Linked DNA regions of Homo sapiens: all the other regions are linked to region 3. The links are contacts of gene promoters, found by promoter capture Hi-C in human tissues and cell types (Jung and others, 2019). All regions are on one chromosome and are shown on one strand. The core of a region is centred on a gene start or on the middle of the fragment in contact, and the rest is flanking DNA. Distances in the headings are between cores, read along the strand shown.

What was found. Contacts are between HindIII fragments. The study calls those that stand out against the background at their distance.
Region 1: a fragment that was not itself captured here is called in contact with the fragment with the promoter of SCEL in region 3 in 4 of the 25 tissues and cell types used here (H1 embryonic stem cells, dorsolateral prefrontal cortex, lymphoblastoid cells and 1 more).
Region 2: a contact is called between a fragment that was not itself captured here and the fragment with the promoter of SCEL in region 3, in 4 of the 25 tissues and cell types used here (dorsolateral prefrontal cortex, lymphoblastoid cells, mesenchymal stem cells and 1 more).

Annotation. Positions count from the first base shown.
Region 1 is chr13:77,172,869-77,176,791 of GRCh38, reverse strand. It overlaps MYCBP2 (MYC binding protein 2), which reads left to right. Exons shown (of 83, transcript NM_015057.5): 36 at 164-295; 37 at 2,303-2,481. Among named protein-coding and RNA genes, the nearest start is that of MYCBP2-AS2, 94 kb to the right of the region's middle. The HindIII fragment of the contact is 3,956 bases long and covers 629-3,923 here.
Region 2 is chr13:77,130,845-77,134,775 of GRCh38, reverse strand. All of the region lies in intron 52 of MYCBP2 (MYC binding protein 2), which reads left to right. Among named protein-coding and RNA genes, the nearest start is that of MYCBP2-AS2, 52 kb to the right of the region's middle. The HindIII fragment of the contact is 7,245 bases long and covers 1-3,931 here.
Region 3 is chr13:77,534,129-77,537,775 of GRCh38, reverse strand. It overlaps SCEL (sciellin), which reads right to left and starts at 2,070. Exons shown (of 33, transcript NM_144777.3): 1 at 1,952-2,070. The HindIII fragment of the contact is 8,761 bases long and covers 1-3,647 here.

The DNA of each region.
Region 1 (3,923 bases), core at 1,357-3,856, 360 kb after region 3:
TATAGTACCCCCAACTTTTTCTTTCATATGTATGGGAAAATACTAATGGCTAATTTTATATTCAAGAAAATAAATTTTAAAAATAATAATTATAAATCAAAATTGTTCATACAATAAAATTAAGAGTCTGTTGGAATTTTTGTGTTTCATTTTTTTTTTTTAGAGTGAACATGCAGGAGATTCAACTCATTCCCACAGATGGACATCTCTGGAATTAGTGAAAGGAACGTACACAACGGATGACTCACCCAGTGATATAGCTGAGATCAGACTTGACAAAGTGGTTCCTTTAAAGGTAGTTTCAACTGAATGTTTCTATTGTGAATAAGAGGTATTATTATGTAGTTAAAATAGTGAAGAGTATTCCATGAATTTTGTTTGTTACCTATAGCTATTTGTAAGTTATCCTTTATATGGTACTTAAATATTTATGGAGTACCTACTACGTACCTAATGTTGTACCACATTATATTATATTTTTGCATAATGTTTCTTAAAGTCAGGAGTAGTAGGAAGTTTTGTAGTCAAACAGACTTAGCTTTGGATACCTGCTGTTCCACATGCTGACTTTAAGACACTGGCAGATCATTATTTAACCACTTTGAGACTTATCTGTAGATTGGGAAGAATAATACCTGCATTGTAGTAGTATTGAGATTAAATAATGGAAATAAAACACCTGCCTTAGTGTCTAGCACAATATGAAAAATAAATATTAGCTCCTGTCTTTTCTTCTCTTATTGTGCCCTAACTCATTTAAAAAAAAAAAAAAGTGTTTTTGTTTTGTTTTGTTTTGTTTCTTTATTTTTTTTTAATTATTATTATTATTTTTTTTTAGATGGAGTCTCACTCTGTCGCCCAGGCTGGAGTGCAGTGGTGTGATCTTGGCTCACTGCAACCTCTGCCTCCCGGGTTTAAATGATTCTCCTGTGTCAGCCTCCCGAGTAGCTGGAATTACAGCCACGTGCCACTATGCCCAGCTAATTTTGTATTTTTAGTAGAGGGGTTTCACTGTGTTGACCAGGCTGGTCTCGAACTCCTGCCCTCAAGTGATCCACTCCGCTTGGCCTCCCAAAGTTCTGGGATTACAAGCGTGAGCCACCGCGCCCAGCCTATTTCCTAACAATATTTGGCAAAATAGAGAAATTTTACCACATCAAAGTAATTATAGATGTTAAAATAAAATTAAAGTATTTCTGAATTCAACTGAAATAAATTTCATTATAGAGCAGAATTTTGGATAAGATCGGTACACGAGAGGTTTCATCAGGAAGAATTTAGATACTGAAAAACCAAAAAGCTTTTATTGTGAAATTTATATCATGGGTCATAAAGCATTAGTTTCTATAGCTCACATTTTAAAAGTACAGTGCATTATATTTTGGACAGCTTTTTTCCTATGGGTTTTTTTTCTCATGTCTGTTTGCCTATATATTTCTATCTCTGAGTTTTTCTTAAAAATATAATAGACTCACCATTTTTTTCCTCACATCTAAAATTATTTTAAAAGTTAAACTAGTCAAGGAAAAGTATCAGCTTATGCAATTAAAATCCCTTATTGCCGGGCACAGTAGCGCACACCTGTAATTCCAGTACTTTTGAGACACCAGGGAGGGAGGATCACTTGAGCTTGGGAGTTTGAGGCTAGGCTGGGCAATATAGTCAGACCTTATCTCTACAGAAACACCCTAAAAAATTAACTGAGTGTGATGGAACACACCGGTGGGAGGATTGCTTGAGCCCAGGAAGAGGAGGCCACATTGAACCAAAATTGCACCACTGCACTCCAGGCTGGGTGACAGAGCAAGATCCTGTCTCAGAAAAAAATATATATATATAATATATAAAATATATATATATTATATATATATAATATATATTATATATATATAGTATGGCTAATATTCTAGCAGTAAAATTAAGAGCAGGCACTAGTTACATTGGTTGTGTTCAGACCTAGTTCCATCACTTACTAGCTGCGTGACTTTGAACAAGTTACTTAACTTCTCTGAACCTCAGATTCCTCATCTGTAAAATAGGGATAGTAATGATACTTACCTTATGAGGTCATTTTAAGGATTAATTAAATTCCATAAAGTAGTTAGGACAGTTGCTTTTATGCAACAGGTGTTCAGTAAATGTTAGCCGTCATCGTGTTTGATTCATTAAAAACTTATTTAATTATATCATCTGTAAATATGACAAAGAATTTCAGTATATTTGCCTATTTTACTGCTAGAGTTCTTTTTATATATCCTCTGTACATTGTGAATAAAAGATGTTTTACATCTTTATAATGAAGGAAAATGTTAAATATGCTGTGCGCTTGAGGAACTATGGAAGCCGTACAGCCAATGGAGATGGAGGAATGACCACAGTTCAGTGCCCTGATGGTGTGACATTCACATTCAGCACGTGCAGCTTGAGCAGTAACGGCACAAACCAAACCAGAGGACAGATCCCACAGATACTCTACTATAGGTGGGTGAATGTATAGAGATAACGGAAATACTTTACAGTGGTAGAACATACACAGTCTACTACCAGGTAAAATTGCTAACTGGATACTTATAATTAAATTGTACAGTGTATCTTCTTAGCACATACTTGTACAAATTCATATAAAGAAATCTCTTTTTAATATATAAATTCAATGTTTGCTACAAAAGTTAATGCTTTAAAATATTTTTGCTGTTATTTCTTCAATATCATTGAAATGTTTGTGTACTGGGCATATGTGCTGTTGCTGTCACTCTATAATTTCTGGTCTGCAATTTCAAATTTAAAGGATATTCATTTCTTTTTATAAAATACCTCAAACTAATGATCAGATAGACTGTACTCAGATAGTGGTGTTGCCTTGATCTTGTTATCTAGTCACAGAATATTTTGATGTCTGTGAATCTTGGACCTGCCCCCTGGGGCCCTAGAATATATAATAGTGTGTTTCTTATAATGTTTTTAACAAAAACCATTCCTTATGTAAACCTTGGAAAATAAAAGAATGATAACAACCCTTGGGTTAAAAAAATCTTTTAAATAAACATTTCTCACTGAGTCTGAATTTTTCTTGTAGCGGCAAAGCTGGCGTCTTAGGTAGTCATGAGTACCATTTACCACATTTGTCCTCAGCCTGACTTGGCATTAAATCACTGAATTTCCATGTCACTTTCAGAGGCTTGCTGCTTCCTCTCTTTCCTTCATGAAGAGTCTAGGGATGGTGCCTACGTAGATAGTATAAAATAATTTCCCTAGATATAGATTTTCTGCTTCCTCTTTCCATCAGAAATAGAATAGAAATAGCAGGCAGCAAATAGCTATGTAGTTCATTGTTGCTGCTGAAATACAAAAGCTGTCTAGTCTTTTGCCCCAGTCAAGAAAAGCTTTCTGTTACATAAGCACTACAATAAATAGTACATTATTCTCTTTCTTAAACTATGGATTAAAAACTCTGTTATGCGTAAGAGTTACGTGTTTCAGAAAGCTGGAGAGCCACTAAGAGCATCTGCCATCCAAACTTTATATCTTATACAAAATACAGTGTTTTGAGTATTTTCATGTTTTCTATTAAGCTTTAAATACCCTTAGCTTTACATTTTTTATAAATGAAAAATGTTAAAGTCCTTTAGTTTTAAATACCATCCTGCTCTGATAGCTCCCAAGTTTACATCCCTAGCCTTCATGACCTCTGAGCCCTGGACTCCGGGTCTCTCTTCTGACATCTTCATTTGGATGACACTAGTGGAGATGGTGTTAGTTACTGTGTGCCAGGACATGCTTTGAGTATGTTACCTGTGTTATTTCACCTTGTCCTCACAGTAACCCCAGGAGGTAGGTACTTTCCTTATCCCTGTTTCACAGATGATGGAACTGAGACGCTGAATTGTCTAGAGTCACACCTCTGTTAAGTTACGCTACTGCGA
Region 2 (3,931 bases), core at 571-3,070, 400 kb after region 3:
TAGTAATGCTCTAGTTGAGAGACAAAATAACATTAGACATTCATATTATGACTGTATCGTTTCCAAAATAATTTTTAAGTCAATGGGAAAGATAGAGCTAAATAGATGAAGGGTTCAGATCCTCTGTGAGGCATTCATTATCAATTATGTAGAACTTTTTGCCCTTTTTAGAACACTTTTCCTTTTTTTTTTTGTTATTTTTGTTGTTGTTTTTTGTTTTGTTTTTTGTTTGTTTGTTTGTTTTTACAGCACCTTGCCCTGCCACCCAAGCTGGAGTTCAGTGGCACGATCTTGGCTCACTGCAACCTCCACCTCCCAGGTTCAAGCGATTCTTATGTCTCAGCCTCCCAAGTAGCTGGTATTACAGGCATACACCACCACACCCAGCTAATTTTTGTATTTTTAGTAGAGACGGGCAGGGTTTTACCATGTTGGCCAGGCTGCTCTCGAACTCCTGGCCTCAAGTGATCCACCTACCTTGGCTTCCCACAGTGCTGGGATTACAGACTGGGATTAAAGACGTGAGCCACTGCACCCGGCTGAGAACATGCTTTCCAGTTTTATGTCTTAAGAGTCTTTGTTTTGTTGTCTAATTTATCTAGAATGGTTTCACTTCCATTTTTTTCTAATCTTAAGTTGTCCAGACTCAAAAATTGGTTGGTGATCTTCTCTTTATTTTCCATTTTTGCTATAGTCATTAATTCATTAATTGCTCATTTAGTAAATATTTGAGTTCTTATTCGTAGAATTCTTATTTGCATTCTTGTTAGTAATAAATACTAAGCTGGAAAGTAGGCATTGGGTGGAGATGCAGAGGGGAGGGATACAGAGTAAATAACATGGGGTGAAGTTCTGATCCTTGGAGTACTCACCATGTAATGTGGTAGACATACCATATTCACATAATTAAATTGCATTGTGATAAGTTGTGGAATGGCTTCACTTAAGTGACATTTGAGGAGGACTTGAAGAAAAGTTGCCAGGAAACAGTAAAGGAATTTCTAGACAGAGAATCAAATGTTCAGAGTTATGGGGACATGCTATGTATGTGAACTAATGAATAGTTGATATAGGTAAAGCAGAGAATTGAGGGTGGAAAACAGATATGTACTGGGGAGAATAGCTTTCTCTCTTCCTTCTCAGGCAGCACTTAATCTGTAGAAGTAGAGAAGGCTTACTTCTTTCTCCAGCTACCCATAATATTTGTTTTTCTTGCCTTCAGCCCATTTGTGTTTATGTACCTCTTATTTCTGTTTTTAAGCTACTTAAGGATAAGGACTCATTCAGGATCCCTTCTCACTCACATTTGTTTCTTCCTAAGCATTAAAAATTACACTTTGCTCATAGTAGGTTTTCACAGTTTGTTGATGCTTTACACATTTGTGGATGCTTAATTTTAGTTCTTTGCATTTGATATGATCATTCTGTTTAAAATAATTTCTAACATATATATGCTCCTTGCCTTAATTATCTCATTTAATCCTCATTGTGACCCTGTGATGTTAAGCATATTATAATTCTCATTTTTGCAATGAGTAAAGATAGCCACTCACCCAGGATCACAAGTAGAAAGTAGTGGAGCTGGTATTGGAACACCAGTTGATATGATTCCAAAGCCCATGCATTTATGTTCCGTATGCATTAATCTAGTGGAGAGATAAGGATAAATATAGTTATAAAAGGATGAAGCAACTATAGCTGTAATAATCCTGTTACTTTGACTAGAACTGCCAAACTACAGAAAGATAAATACTTATAACCTTAATGGTTGAATGAGGATGAATACCATATGTATTGAAGATGACATGAGTTATTCTTTGATTGCATACCTGGGGAACATTGATTGATTTTAAATTAAAATTCTGAAGATGTGGAATCTGCAAAATGTGAGCTAGTAGAATGTTTCAAATATCAGGGACAATGCAAGTAAAAAGATGAAGAGAGAATTTATTATGCACCTACCAAGGAAGACATTAGACTCTGGAATCACAAGCTTAATTTTTTGGAAAACAAGTGTACTTCTATGATAGGAGATGTTAATGGTTTCAAACTTACACACCCAATTCTTTGGGTACTCTGTCAAAAATGAGATCTTTTAACATTGTGAGGGGGGTTGAGTGGAAGAGAAAGTTTATATCAAGGGAAGTAGATGATAGACAAATGGAAGTATTCTGAGGTATCTTTATAGTTCCCATATAATCTGAATTCTTACAGAATTGAGTTTCTGTATATCTCCATGCATTTATACAGATTACTTCTTATTTTAGGCTGATGGGTGTTCACATATAGAAAGTATACTGATTTTCCAAATTTTGGAACCTGAAAGATTTGAAGTAGAGTTGAAGAGAAAGTATCATTTGTTAATCTTGTTTGTATAGCTTCACCTGGGTTAATTGATAAAATTGGCAAATGTTTCTTGCATTTTAAATCCAATTTCATTCCTTTTTACCTAATAACATTAAATCCAATTTCATTCCTTTTTGCCTAATAACACTTAGCAGTCACAGCTTTAACATACCCCAGATTTCCTGATTTTGTTAATAGCTTTGTGTGTATGTGTATACATAACCCGTGTTTTAATCTCAATAATATTAACTTAATACAACATTAGTAAATGTGCTGTTCTTATATGGTTAAGAACAGCTTTATTTCATTCTTTAGCTTAGTGTTAAAGTTTCGTAAACAGAATGAGATTAAAACAGTTAAATTAAGATTGTAATAATATATATACGCTATTCTTAATTTTCCTGAGTCATTTCATCATTTTGCTTTAACAATGGCAATTCTTAGCTTTGTGCTTATCTAACACAAGGAAAGATTTTTTTCTTTTATTTGCATGAGCATTTGGCATGGTTGGTCACTTATTTTCACTGTGATAATTATTCACTTGTTGGTCTCTTTTCTACGCCATGAAAGATTATCAGCTTAGAGTTGCAATTTGGTGTTCATTAATTTAGTTAGATTCCCAGTATGCTTTAATTTTCTAATTTTCTTGACAGAACTTTTCTGCCTTTAAAATAGTATTTGAGAATGAAATGTTATTTTATATATATGTGTGTTCGTATATACACATGCACACACAAGCTGTGCTTATAATAATCTGTGAAATTATACTATATGAAAGCTAACATATTTTAATAGTGAGAAATTGGGGCTTTGGAAAAATTAACATTTTCCTGAATGTTCATATCTTTAGACTAAAACATTTCTAAATTTCCAAAGAACACTATTCAAGTGTGTGTGTGTGTGTGTGTGTGTTTGTTTGTGTGTGTGTGTGTGTGTGTGTGTTTGAGATGAAGTCTTGTTGTTGCCCAAGCTGGACTTGAACTTCTGGGCTCAAGGAGTCCTGCCTTCTCAGCTTCCCACGTAGCTGTGACTACAGGCATGTACTACCATGCCGAGCTATATTTTTAAATTATTTTGTAGAGACGAGGTCTCTCTGTCTTATCCAGGCTGGTCTCGAACTCCTGGATTCAAGCAATCCTCCTGTCTCAGCCTTCTGAATAGCTACGAGTATAGGCATGCACTACTCACCCAGCTATTCAAGTATATTTTATTTTTAAACTCCAGCTTTCTGTTAGTCAAATTTCTGCTTCTTGATAAATGCAGTTTTATTAGGACATTGCATTTTGAAAATAATCTTAGGGTAAACCAGTGTGAATTAAGAATTTTCTACAACTGCAGAACAAAAGCAAAAAAGTATAAAGTTTCAATTTACATGGAAGCATATACAGAATTGATTTTATTGGCAATTTATTACCACAGTTAGCAGTTAACATCATTTTAAAATATCATTGTACATGTTGTTGACTGAGAAAGCACTTATGTTTGCACATTGACTTAAAAGAGAGACATAAGCTTTAAATATTGTCAACCAGTCATCACATTGCTTCTTTATCACTAACTTTACCTGCATTACTTTTAACAATTG
Region 3 (3,647 bases), core at 821-3,320:
GTTTTGTTTACATAGTCCCCAGGAATATGAACCTCTCAGGTATTTCATCATAATTCTGGTAGTCTGAGAAGGCAGTCAGGTAAGCATCACCTACAGAATGGCATTCGAGGCAAGGGTGTTCTGATTGTACAGACCACAGCTAACACACATACATCAGATCCCCTCCCTGCTGAGGGGCTACTGGCTCCTGAGATGAAAATCTCATAAATATAATAAACGGCAACACTGATTCCATAAGCCACAAGTTGGAAAACGTATTCTATTATGTCTTAGTCATACCATACACACTATAATATTTCCACATGTGCTGGGTAACCACAGTCTGTGATGGAGTGTGGCTCATTTATTGCTACTACATATTTTATGATAAAAAGCATTTGAAAAAATATTGAGAAAATTCAGTAAGACAAAAGACAAGCAATCTGGCATCGTGCTCTGGTTCTGCTACTCTGATCTTCACAAGTTGCTTAACATTTATGCTTTGATTTTCTCAACTAGAAAATTCAGGCATTAGACTAGATGGGCCTATGCTCCGTTTCAGTTGAAATATTCTGTCAATTAGATCTAAGATTTATACGACGCTAACATTCCAATAAAAATTCTGGCCTGTTGTTGGCATTCTATGCATATCCCGACATTTAGGATCATCTGAATGTTTTACTAAAATTTTTACTGTTGTCATTTCTCAGTTTTCTCAAATTGATGTTTCCAATACTTTAAACACTGGAGCACCACATATATTAGGAAGGCTTTATCTACGTTATAAACTATGGAAGTGAAAGACAGTTTTAAATGTAATCACATTTTATGAAAAATAAAATTATCCACACTTGCTACACTTTAGTTTTCTGGTTACTATAAACACTTGAAAGCCAAGTTGTAAAATTCTTCTGTAAACCTTTGGGAAATGAGCACTGGTGTGTCTAACCCCCTCTCAGACTGCAGGTGACCTTGTCAGCAATAGGAAGCCATGAGAACTCAAGTACTACAGATAGAGCCAGGTATGCTGTGGGGGCACCTCTCTGGAGGACACAGAGCTGCAATTTGCAAGCTGTGAGTGGCCCCTGCATTTGAATCCCACAGCTCTGTATCATAAATAGAAATGATGAGAAAAAACACAAGTCAGCTTAGCTATTAATTATAAAAGAAAGCTCTGTTAAAAGAACTCTTCTAGCCTTATCAAAAGTCTCCCAAAACTGGTTTTTCAGGACTAGGCTATGAATAAAGTTTGAAAATTGCCCCCATATACATTAATCACTCCTTAGGTTAGAATGCAGAATATACCATAGAGAAGTTGGCCAGATGCCCACAGATCCCTGTGAGGAACCATGTACCCTTATTCTGCTCCCACACCCTGCCTTTACTCCTTGGTACTTTCAAGTGAGAAATGGTGATTTTCTTATTTGGGGAAGATAGGGTGGAGACAAAAACCTCATAAATATAAACCTCTCTCTCTCTCATAGCTCAGCAACTTGCAATATTTTTAGCAGTAGAGAAAAAAATAAATATGACTTATTAACTATAAAGCAATATTTGAGTTCACTATTTCACTAAAAGCATCATTTATGAAAACAGAAAGATCCTTTAAAAAATGTTTGTATAGTCGCTTGAGAAAATAAACCAGCAGGTGCTGGTCCCTTCACTTAAAGAATTTATTATCCTTTGTGTGGCAGGATTCACCAGCTGACAGCTCCCACCCAGAAAATCAAATAGGTGCTCGTTTCTGTGATGCCCATAACGTGTAAAATTGCCAAGAAGTTCAATGCAATGTGACCTAAAAGTACAGCAAGGAAGAGCAGAGCTAACAGCCAGCTGGAGGCTGTCAAAATTTACAGGAAGAAAAGACAAAGATAATACAGTAAGTTCTAATTTTAATCATTTGTAAGGAACACAGAGAAAGCTGTGCACATACAGCAGATGTATTTCTGTTTGCAAGTATAATTCAACTTACCTCTATTGAGCAGAAAATCAGGACTTTTTGGCTAACCAGCCTGTAGTGATTCCCTGGGAGGATCTGGCTGAAAGAAATGGGAACCTAGAGTTTATTCAGTGGAGTCTCAACCTCTACCTGACTGTATTAGTGAACAGTTCAGAGGTTTCTTGCTCAGCGGCTGAGTCACTCAGGGAGGAGGTGTGTGGTATGCAACAGGGTGTCACCTTGTACAAATACCAGTTCAATTAAAGCATTCTCACTCATATACCTACTGTCTTTGTTTGAATTCTTTGTTTAACTTATGGCCTTATGCAAAAAAAAAAAAAACATATATATATATATGCTCCTGTGATCACCCTTTTAACTGATATCAACAGTATGCACAACCATATCACTGACAAGGTGGCATAGGACCCAACCTATTTTGTATTCTCTTTCAAAAAATAAAATTGAAAACTCAAGATAGAAGGAACCCCCATACACCCATAGTACCTGGAAGGCAGGGGCACAGACAAGCATGCAAGGAGTATATGGCTTAAAGGAATCTTCAAGACAAACAAATTCTCAGAAACCCAGGAACCCTAGGATTAGAAAACACAAAAGAAGTCTGTTCCACACATTCTACACCTAGACTATTTTGTAAAACTATCAGAGGGAAAATACACCTAGCATGTAAGAATTCTAATCTCTATCTTATTTATCCATGTATAAAAAAATGTGAAAAGGGGCCAGGCGTGGTGGCTCACATCTGTAATCCCAGGACTTTGGGCGGTGGAAGCAGGCGGATCACCTGAGGTCAGCAGTTCAAGATCAGCCTGGCCAACATGGTAAAACCTGATCTCTACTAAAAATATAAAAATTAGCTGGGCGTGATGGCACACACCTGTAACCCCAGCTATATTAAATAACTATAACACACCATGATAAAGTCATATACAGAAATTTTCAATGCCAGGCATCGCATAGTGGAGAGAAGGAAGAACCTGGAAGGTGATGTTGATGCAGAGTTTTAAAGTCTGAGTGGACAATGATTAGATGGTCAAGAAGAAGAAGAACCATTCATCCACTCTGGCAGGAGGAGGCAGGAGAATCACTTGAACCAGGGAAGTGGAGGTTACAGTGAGCCAAGATCACACCACTGCACTCTAGCCTAGGCAACAGAGTGAGACTGTCTCAGAAAAAAAAAAAAAATGTGAAAAGGATGGTTGAAACTTCTTTCAATGCTGAGGGCAGCAGTAGACCCAACATCAAAGGCTGCTTCTGGCCAGTTGCAGTGGCTTTCACTTGCACTTTGGGAGGCCAAGGTGGGAGGATCACTTGAGCCAAGAAGTTCGAGACAAACTGGGCAACACAGTAAGAGAAGATCTCATCTCTACTAAAAATAAAAAAATCAGCTGGGTGTGGTAGTGCATGTCTTTGGTCCCAGTTACTCAGGAGGCTGAGGCAAAGAGAGTCTCTTGAGCATGGGAGGACCAAGCCACAGTGAGCTGTGATCACACCACCGCATTCCAGTATGGGTGACAGAGTGAGACCCTATCTCAAAAAACAAAACAAACAGACAAAAAAAACAAAAAAAACCCAACAAAAAACAAAGGCTGCTTCCGCTGGGAGGAAGGAGTAACACTGAAGAGCCATTCTAGGCGGGGACTCCTGTTACAGGTTTTGAAACACACCTTCCCTAAGAGCCAAAGAGGCTTTAAAGAAGCTTAGCAAA